Regions from separate parts of the Homo sapiens genome. Here region 2 is linked to region 1. The links are contacts of gene promoters, found by promoter capture Hi-C in human tissues and cell types (Jung and others, 2019). All regions are on one chromosome and are shown on one strand. The core of a region is centred on a gene start or on the middle of the fragment in contact, and the rest is flanking DNA. Distances in the headings are between cores, read along the strand shown.

The links. The method cuts DNA at HindIII sites, captures the fragments that hold promoters and counts their contacts. A contact is called where the count stands out against the background at its distance.
Region 2: a fragment that was not itself captured here is called in contact with the fragment with the promoter of VSTM4 in region 1 in 2 of the 25 tissues and cell types used here (heart left ventricle and spleen).

The regions. Positions count from the first base shown.
Region 1 is chr10:49,113,371-49,119,313 of GRCh38, forward strand. VSTM4 (V-set and transmembrane domain containing 4) reads right to left here and starts at 2,152. Exons shown (of 8, transcript NM_001031746.5): 1 at 2,061-2,152. The coding sequence starts at 2,115. The HindIII fragment of the contact is 10,769 bases long and covers 1-5,711 here.
Region 2 is chr10:49,303,501-49,308,894 of GRCh38, forward strand. All of the region lies in intron 1 of C10orf71 (chromosome 10 open reading frame 71), which reads left to right. Among named protein-coding and RNA genes, the nearest start is that of C10orf71, 7.0 kb to the left of the region's middle. RefSeq lists a silencer at 4,608-4,657. The HindIII fragment of the contact is 4,363 bases long and covers 526-4,888 here.

The DNA.
Region 1 (5,943 bases), core at 902-3,401:
CATCCAGGATAAAAATATCACCTTGCCCAATGATAGAGGCTAATACCTGCCGGGTACAAACTCTATGCCCTTTAGATGTATTTTCTCAATTTATCCTGATACTCTGTTTATTCCCATTTTATAGACAAGAGGACTGAGGTACAGAGAGGCTAAGCCCTTGTTCAAGCTCACATAGTAAGTGGCAGAGCTGGAATTCGAACCTAGGCCATCTTGCTTCAAAGACAGCTCAGCCACCTCTCAAGCCTACAGATTTGCTATCGTAAATATATTGTCTGTCAGTTTTCTTTCCTGTAAAATGAGACATGGGACCAGGTGACCACTAGGGTCCTGGTCAGTCCCAAAATGGAGAGGCAGAAAAGTACAGCAGTTAAGAAGCTGTACTTATGTATAAAATGGGTCTGCCAGCCCCTCCCAGCAGGATCGTGGTGAGGAGTCATGAATGAGGCACTTAGAAAAGTGGGTGGCACACAGTGAGTGTCCCACAAGCAGGAGCTCTTATCATCCTCCAGGGCTGACCATGGGCACAGCCAGGGCAGACTCTAAAGGCTCCTGAATTCCAGCTCTCAAGGCTCCCGAGGGCTCTGGAAATGTGAGAATGCCCTTGATCCCCAGCAAAAGACAATCTCTGGGACACCCACTCTGACAGCTCCTGCAATTAGAAGGTGGTCATGGAGCCTGGGAGAGGAAGGACCACTGGCTGCTGGCTACTCCACAGAGACCACGAGAACTGGCCCTGCCCACCAGTCCAAGGCAAACTTCTCATCATTTTTCCAGCCGAGACAGTGACAACTGGGAAAAGGTACATTTCCCGCAGCAAGGATTTCAGGTTCACTGGGAACCTGGCTGCACTCATAGCTGGGGGACAGTAGATGGATTTCTTCCCACTGTTATCCAAGTGCCTCCTCCTCAGACTGGGATCTATGGATTAATGCTGGCTCAAATGCCAGCTCTACACTTGGTAGCCAGATCACTCTTGGAAAATGACTTCTGAGCATCAGTTTCCTAATTTTCAAAACAATGGCAACACAGTTTAGTGGTTATTGACAGAGCCCAGAGCCAGGCTAACTGGGTTCAAATCCCAGCTCCACCACTTACAAGCCTACTGAATTAAGGCAAGTCCGTTCATGGGCCTGAGCCTCAGTTTCCTCATCTATAAAATAGGGATAATAATAGCACCTCCTTCAGAGGTTATTGGTGAGATTAACCAAGTTCATGTTTTTTTTTTTTAATACTTGGATATATAAACGTGTTGTAGTCATTATTACTTGGAAGTGTTGTAATTAAATGAGATAGGCCCAGATAGGCACCCAGGGAAAGTGACCATCGATACCTGTATTATTACTATTATTCCAGCCAGTACGGCCCCTGCTGCCCTGAGGCAGCCAGACAGAGTTCTGGGGAATAAAGAGGGAAAATTCTTAAGACACTTACAAGTGGGAGCAGTAAAACCCGAATGAAAGCCATTAGTGTGGACCAAGAAGTTGTCCTCAAAGCAGGGTGCTGGTGGAGAGGCGTCGCTGCATCCAGCCGTGGATGCCCCTCTCACCAGGCCTGGTCACCTCAAAAGGCCCACGATCAAGTCCCCGTTCCCCACCTCCTGGCCAAGGCAGATCCAGCCGCTCCTGACTTGTCTTCGGAGTAACTCTCCGAAGAGAGTGAAAGGGAAGTTGCTGCTCCGAGGAATCTGCCAAGAGCTGTGTGTCCTGACTGCCGTGGAAAAAAGGAAAGCGAACCACCAACTTGGGCTGCGCTCCTGCTGCATCTCCCCTCGGGGCCTGCCGCTGGGAAGATCTCGGCTGCTGCGAGAGTACCCAGCCCCAGGCGAGGTCGGGACGGGGACCGCGCTCACGGGAGGCGTCCTCTGAACCTTGGGGAGGCGCCGCTGCGCCCGCCAGACCCTCGGCGAGCCCACCGGAGCGCGCTGGCGACAGTGACAGCGCCGCCCCCCGCCCGCGCCCGGAGGTGGCAGGGCCTCCCCACCAGGCCCGGAGCCCCGGCCTCCCCGGCGCGGCCGCCCGGCCCCCACCCTTCCCGCTCCCGCCTGGCCCCGCCGCGCTTACCCGGAGCCGGAGCCCGCGCCAGCAGCGCGGCCGCCGCCAGTGCCAGCAGCCGCATCTCCCCGCCGCCGCCCGGCGCTGTGACGCGGGAGAGCGCCGCCGCCTGGCCCGGCCGCCGCCAGCCCGCCCCGGGCCCGCGCTCGCGCCCGCCCCCGGCCCGCCCCTTGGGCCGCCTGCCACGCGGGGCCGGGGCTGCTGGGTCCCGAGGCCCGCACCGGGCGCGGGAGCCGCCGCGCGATCGGTTCGCTCCAGGATCTGTGGCGTCTCCTTTCAACAGCCCCATTTCCCAGATGAGAAAACTGAGTTTCTGCAAGGTGATCGCTGGTGACTCACAGAACACACAGCTGCAGTGCGACCGGCGGTCCTCTGCCCACAGATGCACTTATTCCTAAGGGAAGGCGGGATCTGGGAGCCAGGGGGTGGGGGCGCGTCCAGGGAACCTCTGGCCTGAGACTCACCTGCTGGTCGTGGGCCTCCTGCGCTCACTCCACAGGACCCTCGGGAGCCAACAAGCAGCTGAGGGGGGAGAAGCCCCTTCTGCTGCCCTGAAATGGAGGGCGGGGTCCGAGGTGCTAACCCTTGGAAAACTGAGAGGGTCCACACAGACCAGCCCAGAATATGTGGAAACTATTAACAAAAGTGCCCATTTACAGTGCCTCAGCCAGGCCTGGGCTAAAGTGATTTTCCAGATGCTACTGAACCCCGCCGCGGTCAGGCCTGGGACAGTTCTGTAATCTCCATGTGCCTCAGTTTCCTGCACCTGTAAAATGGGGAAATGGGCCCACCCCTTCTGGGGTGTTTAGGAAGACCAAGTTACACCATTCCCATTAACGCATTGCCCCAGCACCCGATTCACGGGTGTCAGTGAACACTACTATTATTACTATACATAAGGAAGCAGAAGCAGCCACATGAAAGAGACCCATGTCACACAACCACAGAGCCCTGTCACTCTGAGCCAATGCCTGGTCTCTTTGCCACTGTTCTAAACTTAGGGTCTGAGCCTAACCCATCTCCAAGCAAGAAAAGCACATGTTAGGTCTATTCTGTGTGTGTCTATCAGGAGAGGTCTTTGTGGAGTTCCAGTGAGGGGTAGCAGCAGCTAGCAGGTGGGCCCTGGTTGGGAGTGGGTCCCTGTAGGAGGAGGAGGAGACAGGGCCCTCATCTCCTTCCCTCTAAGGGAGTGAGGAGGTGTGGGTGGCATGGAAAGAGGGTGCAGCCCACTAGTGTGAGCCCCAGGGCATTCCCCAGAGGGACCATCCTCTTCAGGCACCCCAGGCCAGTGGGTGCAAAGGCTCTGTGACATCTCTGAACCCCAGGCACTTCCAGAGGTCTCTGGACCCCATGGGATCCTCCAGCTAGGAGACTCATCTGTGGACCAGGGCCCTGCAGGGACTGGACTGACCATCAAGGCAGCCAGGCTGGAGAAAGCAGCCCCATCTATAATTTGGGTTGGTGGAAGGGCCTGAGGACCCGATAGTGAGTTGGCAACAAAGGTACTTGGCTATGATGCCAAGGACAAGAAGTGAGGACTAGAACTGGGGTCAGATGGACTCCTGCAGCCCAGGAATGCAAACTAGAACCAAGTGAGGCTTCCAGACCAGAGTTTGGAAACCAATTTTATACATGAGCAAACGAGCCTCACGTCCCATCCACATAATGTCCTAGGCCTCATTTTACAAATTAGTAAATTCAGGCTCAAAGAAGACCAGGGACCCGTACAAGGTTCTGTGGGGCACCAAATGTCTGAACTGGGAACTTGGACTCTGACTGCAGACTGTTGACTCAGCCCTGGAGCCTGGGGCAGTGTTTGGCAGACTGAGGGAGGATGTCTGAAGAGGAGCACTGGTTCTGAAAGTGGATCTGTGACCCGCTCTGGCTGGGCAACAACCTTGGGTCCTGGAGCAGCACAACCTCTCTGAATTTCATTTGTCAAGTGAAGGTGACACATGTAAAATGGCGTCTTGACATGGCTGTACTAAGAGCAGCTAGAGATGTGGCAGGGCCATTTGGTATCCTTGGTAACCTCCCACCTCAACCTGCTGGTCTCAATTTACTCTCCCAGTTGGTGAAAAGCAGAAGGGACCCCTTAGATGTGTCAGCCACCCTTGGAGGAGGCAACTCCTGCTTTGGTCGTTGTATATTGCTAAATATCCAACTCTCATTGCAAAACAGAGCAGAAATTCAGCCTGCCACCCTTGACTTGCTTCGTCTTTACCAAACTGGGGTTGTGCCAAAGATTTGAGGCTAGAAAGTGCTTTTCTTGTACTTTTCTGCTACAGGTAACATTGTGCTGATTTTACAGCTGTGTGCACTGCTGGTACTTTTCAGCTTCCCATATAATCTAACTGATCATCCTGGTAAAACCTTTGCTGCATGAACACAGGAACAAGGGAATATACTCAGCCCTCATGGGAGACAGAGCCAGTGACCCGGATAAGACTTGGCCTTTCAGCTCTTCTGGACTACATTGGCAAAGGCCTTCCAAATGGTTTTCTTAGCTCTGCTGCCTGCTCACTCATTCACAAGCTTAGGACCATTTGAAAATCCTTCACAGGCTTCTTTGTCCATACCTTGGCTCTATCAGGTCTTACTTTGTACTGAATTGGAAGAATAATACAATCCAATTCTATTTTTTGTTTACCTCATAAGAAGAGGGTGTTCAAACCATTCTAAAGTTGATCCAGATTCCTGTGGACACTAAGCTATATGGAGAGCCTACTCAACTAATCCTGTATTCTACCAGTTGCCACTGAAAGAATCTTAGAAATCCAGATTTTCTCCAACAAGTGCATTCTGCTATCACCTGGCAGGCCGGGGCTTTTCCTCTTTCATTATCCAATTGTTTGTTAGAACCTGGGTCAGAGATGGAAGAGTACAGCATGGTTTTGTAATGGACCTTGCACACAGCAAATATATCCCTAAACTAAGACCATCAAGCAAAACGAAACACCCCTCTTCTAAGGTGTTTAGCAGATTTCCAAGTGTTACTTTTTCAGTCTAGGTTTCTAAAAGTAATTTTGAATATTTGCTCCTCCCTATTGTTCACAGGCATTTTACAGCTAAAAGCAGTCAGCTACATGCTTGAATTGCCACTAAAAGAGAGTTCACTCTAGAGAAAAGCAGTTATCAGCTGTGACTGAGAGAGCAGGGAAAGGATAAGAAAGAGGAGAGATCGTGGTTACAGACAATGCAGCCATCCAATCAGAAAGATATGCCTAAGGCCCCTGGGGCAGAGTTTACATGAAACCTTCAGCACCGTCTTCTCCCTGCACAACTGGGGAAGGAGTATGGACTACACTGTTTTTCCCGAAATGTACAGAAATGTGAAGCTATAGGCCTGACAGGATGTCTAGATAGAAATAGCTTCTAACCAACCTCATTGGTGACCCCAATAGAGGGACGTGATTGTGAGCTGATGCCAAGGGCTCTGCAGGCCGGCTGGATGCAGCAACCTGGACCAGCTCCCAGGAAACGGAAAGACATGGCCCCAGATTCCTAGAAGGCTCCAGATGGAGGTGATTGAAATGAGGGAGGGACTAGGAACCAAACAGATGTCTATAAAACTGACCACAAAGAAAACATCTTAGAACTGACCACTGATGTATAAGACTAAAAATCTCAGTCTATGCCTTCTACTTTTATTGAACATTCAGTGAGCAAAAGACAGACTGAAGAACTGTTCAGAGTAAAAGAGGTTAAAAAGACTTATCAACTAAGTGAAACGTATGATCCTAGATCCTTGATGTGGGATCAGGAAAAAAATGCTAAAAAGGACATTATTGGTATGACTGGCAAATGGACTATATTGTATACTACATACATTTCCTGAGCATGATTATGAAAGAGAATGCCTTTACACTTGTTCTTAGGCGATCCACACTGA
Region 2 (5,394 bases), core at 1,457-3,956, 190 kb after region 1:
GTCTCAGGGCCAGCAGATCTCCTGAGTCCTGAGCGGGATCAAGCACTGTTAAGCCAGCCCCGAGGGCATTCTGAAAAGTGTGAGGATGCTTCCTTAAGAAGGGAAAGGGGGGCAAGGGGCTGGCGCTGTTCTCAGACACAACAGGAGATGCTCCAAGGAGCCAAGTTTTTCACATCAACACAGCCATAGGTTGAAATAAACATGGTTGTTAAAGGAGCATCTTTCAGCTTTAAATTTGAAAAGGAGAACCAGGCTGGCCACATCTGAATGGTTTTCCTTGCCATGAGGAATTCCATGAAGCAGTTGGGTGCTGGTCAGCTCCTTACATTGCACTGCAGGAGCCTGTTCTCCCCTTTCCTTCCCCTGGCTGAGCCGCCTTACCCCTGCTGTGCTGGTTGGAGAAAGGACAGCAGTCATCTACCAGCTACTTTCCAGCCTCCAGCAGAGACAGGAGAAGGCCAGGCACAGCTTCAGACCTATGTGGGAGGCTTAGGAATTCCCAGGGGTGCTCTGTGTGAGGTCCCCTTCTCCTTATCCCAGATGCACACAGCTTTGTGGCTTCCAGGCCAGGGAAGATGAGCTCTGCAGGAGAGCCAGGTCCTACACATGCCTCCTCTAGCTTTACTAAAGCAAATGCTCCCTGGCGGGACCAGATGCAGAGAGAGATAACTGAGAATTTGCTAGGAGAGGGGTTGCTACCCACTCCTCGCCCTGCACAAACCTGTGGCAGATAGAAGACCATCTCATCTCTTGACTCTCTGCCTCACTGCATTCTGGAGAGACCTGGCCCTGAATCCTGGCTCTGTTGCTCTCTGGCTGTGTGACCTTAAGTGAGTTCCTTAACCTCTCTGACCTTCAATTTCTCCACCTAAAATTCCTTTTGCGTCAGCCCTACTCAATTTGCCAGTTGTTGCACCCACTGAGTGAGGCCATGGATACAGAGTGAGGGACAGGTTGCAGGAGCGCCGTCAACAGGATGGGTGCCTGGGACTACCAGGGGGCTAACATTTGGTGACAGCTCTTCCAGCTCTGCTTCTCTGCCTGTGTCACGCAACCTCATGGCACCAGTTTGCATATGGAGAACCTGGTCTATAGACAATGTGATGGACTCTGTAGAAACCCTGCCCTCCCGTAGTTCTCAGGAGTCCTGCCTGAACCTCCTCTCTCTGCCAAGGCTGGCACCCTCCGGGGCTGCTTTCAGGGGGTTCCCCTCCCCTTAGTGCCTGGCTCCCTTCCCAGGGGCTGGAGAAAGGATGGTTCCTGAGGGGATACCCCCATCCCAGCAAAAACAAATGTCTCTTCCTCCAGGAGCCCTCAAGTGGGCTTCTGTCTAGACAAGGCTCTCCAAGGTGGAATCTGGTCATAGGTTACAGTTGTCCCTTCACCACCCACTTCCTGATCCATAAGGGGTTTCCACAAGCATCAAGCTGCTGGGTCTGCCTTTCCATTTGCCCCAAGGTCACCAAAGTGAGACTGAGGCTCACACAAGTTAAGTGGCAAGTCCTAAAGCTGTCTGATTCTGAAGCTCTTAACTGGAGAGTTATGTGCCCCAGTAAGTAAGGGCCAGGGCAGGGTTTCAAGTTCTTTGCACCCCATGCTATGGAATCCCAGGTGTCATGGGGTATGGGGAATAGAAGGACATCTTATGGCCATAGGTCTCAAGATGAGCTCTAAGGAGACCTGTGGGTAAGAACCAGGAGTATGGAGGCTGCAAGGTAGCCAGGGGCAGGTGGGTCCCCAAAGTCACAGTGTGGTGCTGAGCAGAGACTTTTAACCTGTAGCTGGCATTCTAGAAGCTGCTAGAGGAGGCTCTCTAAAGACAGGTGAAAGGGACCACTTCTCTGGCAGCCCTAGGTTCCAGCCCCACACCACCAGGTATTAAATTCTGCGCTACACACGTTTCTCCTCTGTAAAGAACAAGAGTAACTCCTGTGTAATGAGGCTGTTGTGAATACTAATTAAATAATAAATATTAATAATACTAGGTTATAAAGTACCTTTATACCAGGTGCTCATTACCCACTCAGTGGATAAGAGAAATTTCTCTCACCTACTCATTCACTCACTTGTTTAGCAAATAAAAGGCCCCATGCTAGGCATAGGCACTGTGTGGAGACTGGAAACATAAGCTAGAGCAGTAAGGCAAGGCCCAGCCCATGGACCTGCCACCAGCGGGTGGGGTCTCCTCCCCTCCCCAAGTGAATCTGATCAGCCACTGTTTGGGCCTTGGGTCTCCAATTCTCCATCCAGATGAAAATCTAGCATTACCAGAAACGGGGCACCCGTAAGTTGGGCATAATTAGGGATGCCTAAAATTTCTGGTCTCAGAGAGTTTTTTTTAAATCACTATAGATCATAAGTCATTACTGAGTCCTGAAATCACTAAGTTGTGAAGAGGTTTTTTAAATGAACGAATAGATTAGATTAGGATGGAGCAGTACATATAAGAAGGGTAAGCTTTGCTTTGTCTGGTTTTCCATGATACATATGTCTCCAAGCATGTTCTGTGCCATGATGTAAATGCATTTCTTACTACATGTAGAGGAGAAACCTCTGCTCTGTGGAGACACGGAGAGGAGGATGTGTATGCCATTCACTCGCTCCCTGTCGACCTGGCAGGTGAGGCACGGGGCTGCAATGGTCAGGGCCTTCTGAACCTCCTTCTAGTCCAGGCGTCCTCCCTGCTGTGGTGGGGATCCAGGACCTGGTGGTTTGGCTGACTCCAGCATCGAGAGACTCTCAAGCAGTGCCTGCCACAGGGACCGATTCCATGAAAATTCCTGTGTCCAGCATGGGGAGCAACCTTGGGAGTGGGCAGTCCCAGGGGCGGGCACAGCCGGGCTGATTTTTATTATCCCTTTTTTCCAGGTGTAGCAGTTAAGTGACACCCATGACAACAGCACTTTAGAGCTGGGTCTCCGCTCTTCGCACTGCTGGTACTGCCTATTTGATGACTCTCATGTCAGGTCCTGCCATTTCCAGAATCCAGGGCAAGATGTTCCTAGGAAATGTGGAGGGGAAGAGCAAGTGAATACATGAATGAGTGAAGGCAGGAAGAGCCTGGTGCTGGGCTAGTGCTCCCTCCCTGATTCTCTAACAGCAGTTCTCAGCCAGGGGTGATTTTGGCCAGAGACTTGGGCAGTGCCAGTGATGTGGGGACTTAGAAAGTCTATTGGGAGCACCTGTGCCAGGTGCATGGCATGGGGTCCACTTACTTGCAGATGAGAAAGGCTCTCACATGCCATGTCCCTCAAGCACGGTTGTACTCAGCAACCATGGCTAAAGGGCACAGAGCAGCACGAGGACCTGTGCCCAGATCCCAGGGGGACCCACCATTCACATGGCCCCAGAGCTCCTGAAGGAGCCATGTGTCCCTTCTCCAGCAGCTGGCCTGGCAGTGGGGGTGGCCCTGCAGTTTGGGTTGGGTGCAACAAGGAGGTGCAAGGGTAAGAAGGATGAGCAGCAGAACCATGGCTGCCAGGCTGACCCTGCTTTCTCCCAAAATCTCTGCCTCTCAGGCAACTCCCCTCCTGGGCAGTGGAGCAGGACTGGCACTCACCCAACCCTGGGATAGGAAGACAGGGTGAACAGAGTTGTTTGGGATCACATGCTCTCCCTTCCAGATCTTTCCTGCTCCTACTTTTACCTGTGATGCCAGCATGGCTGCTCCTATAAAGCACCTCTGAGCTCACAAGGAGACGCCAAGGGCACCTCTGAGCTCGCCAGGAGAAGCCAAGGGCACCTCTGAGCTCACGAGGAGAAGCCAAGGGCTCTTTGCTTAGGGAGCATCTGGCTGCTGAGGCTGGGCCCCTTGAGGTCTGCAGAGAACACCTGAGAGAGTGTCGTGGAGCAGCTGGCAGTGCCAGGCCTGAGCTCCTTCCTAGTGGAAGGGACTGTCCAGAGACGGTGTCTGGCTGAGTCCAGCCCATCTGGCCACCAGGAGTTCCAAGGAGTGATCCTCCATAATGCTCCACCTCCAGAAGCGGTCAGAAACTGCGCAAAGAGGTGCTGCTGACAGCTCGCAGGTTAGCCTTTGTGGAGTGAGACTCTACCCAAGTTTAAGCAGTGCGAGCTCCGGAGCCTGCTGGGATGCAGAGGCGCACCAGAGCCCCCTGCACCCTGCAAGGCCCACTGAGCACACCTCGTCCCAACTCTGCCTGGGATATCAGGGAGGCAGCAAGAAATTAGCCAGTGCTACAAATCCAGTGCTTTTTGCCCCAGAGAGCTGGTTATTAAACATCGCTTGGCCTGCCCTGGTCATCAGGGAACAGGAACCAGGAGGGGACAGGTTTGTGGGAGACTGCTTGAACCCAGTCCCATTCTCCTCCTCTCTTCTTTTCTCCTGTGACTTCTCATTTCTCCTGCCATAAGGGTCCCTCCCTGGGTCTGTGATGCCAGGTATTGGTCACCCTCATGTCCTGGGTTAGACCAAGCCCGGCCTTCCCTGTGCCTTGTTCCCTGGCCTCAACTGTAGGCACAGCCCTGGGTCTGAGCAGCACTTGGAAGCTTCTGGGGAATGACCCATCCAGACATGGCAGACTGGCTACCCAGGCCAGAAGTCAGCTTCAGGCTGGGCTGAGCTCACAGAGAAAGCATCACTCCTCCAGTCTCTCCCCAGAGGGCAGCAGCCCCTGCTACCCCCTGCTCACATCCAGTTCTGTGGGTTTGACAAGCCCAGGCAAGCTGGTTTCTTCAACCACAACCCCTGGGGCATCCTGGACTTCTACCTGCTACAAGATTTAGAGGCTCCTGCACATGTAATGTGGTTGTAGAAGATTCAGACTCCCACCAGGCCAACACTGCCATCATGGCACCCAACCACATCATGTTCCTGGGGCTGGCCAAAGCCAAACTTGTTCTCTCCCAGGGCACAGTGGCCTCAGAGTCAGTTTGAGAGCCTTTGGCTTTCCCAGGCTATAACCTGAGTTTGGGTCCAGTCAAGCCAGGCCAGGCTGCAGGCTGACACCCCTCTCCCATGTGCCAAATATCAGGCTAGTGGAGCCAAAATGGCCAGACTGGATGCACAATGACCCTTATGTATATCAAATCTCTGCTTTACACACATAAGAGGCACTGCCCAGTGGAAGCCAATCTAAGGCAATCAGAGGTAATTGTGCTTTTACAAAGCAGTAACTTCCCAGGATCCATCCAGTTACGTGAGGAGAGGGCCCGGGTCAGCCCTGCACATGGCTATATCTCCAGCACCAAAACTGGTGACGTGAAGCAGGTGTTCAATAAGTAGTTGTTGAATGGATCAATACATAAATAAGCTTAAGTCACGCTTACGAGATCTTACGCTTTCTTCTAGGAGTCTAAATGAACTTATAATTTCTGATTTCCAAAAGTAAAAGGGGTTACAAAGACACAGCGAGCCCCACATGGGAGATGCTGAGG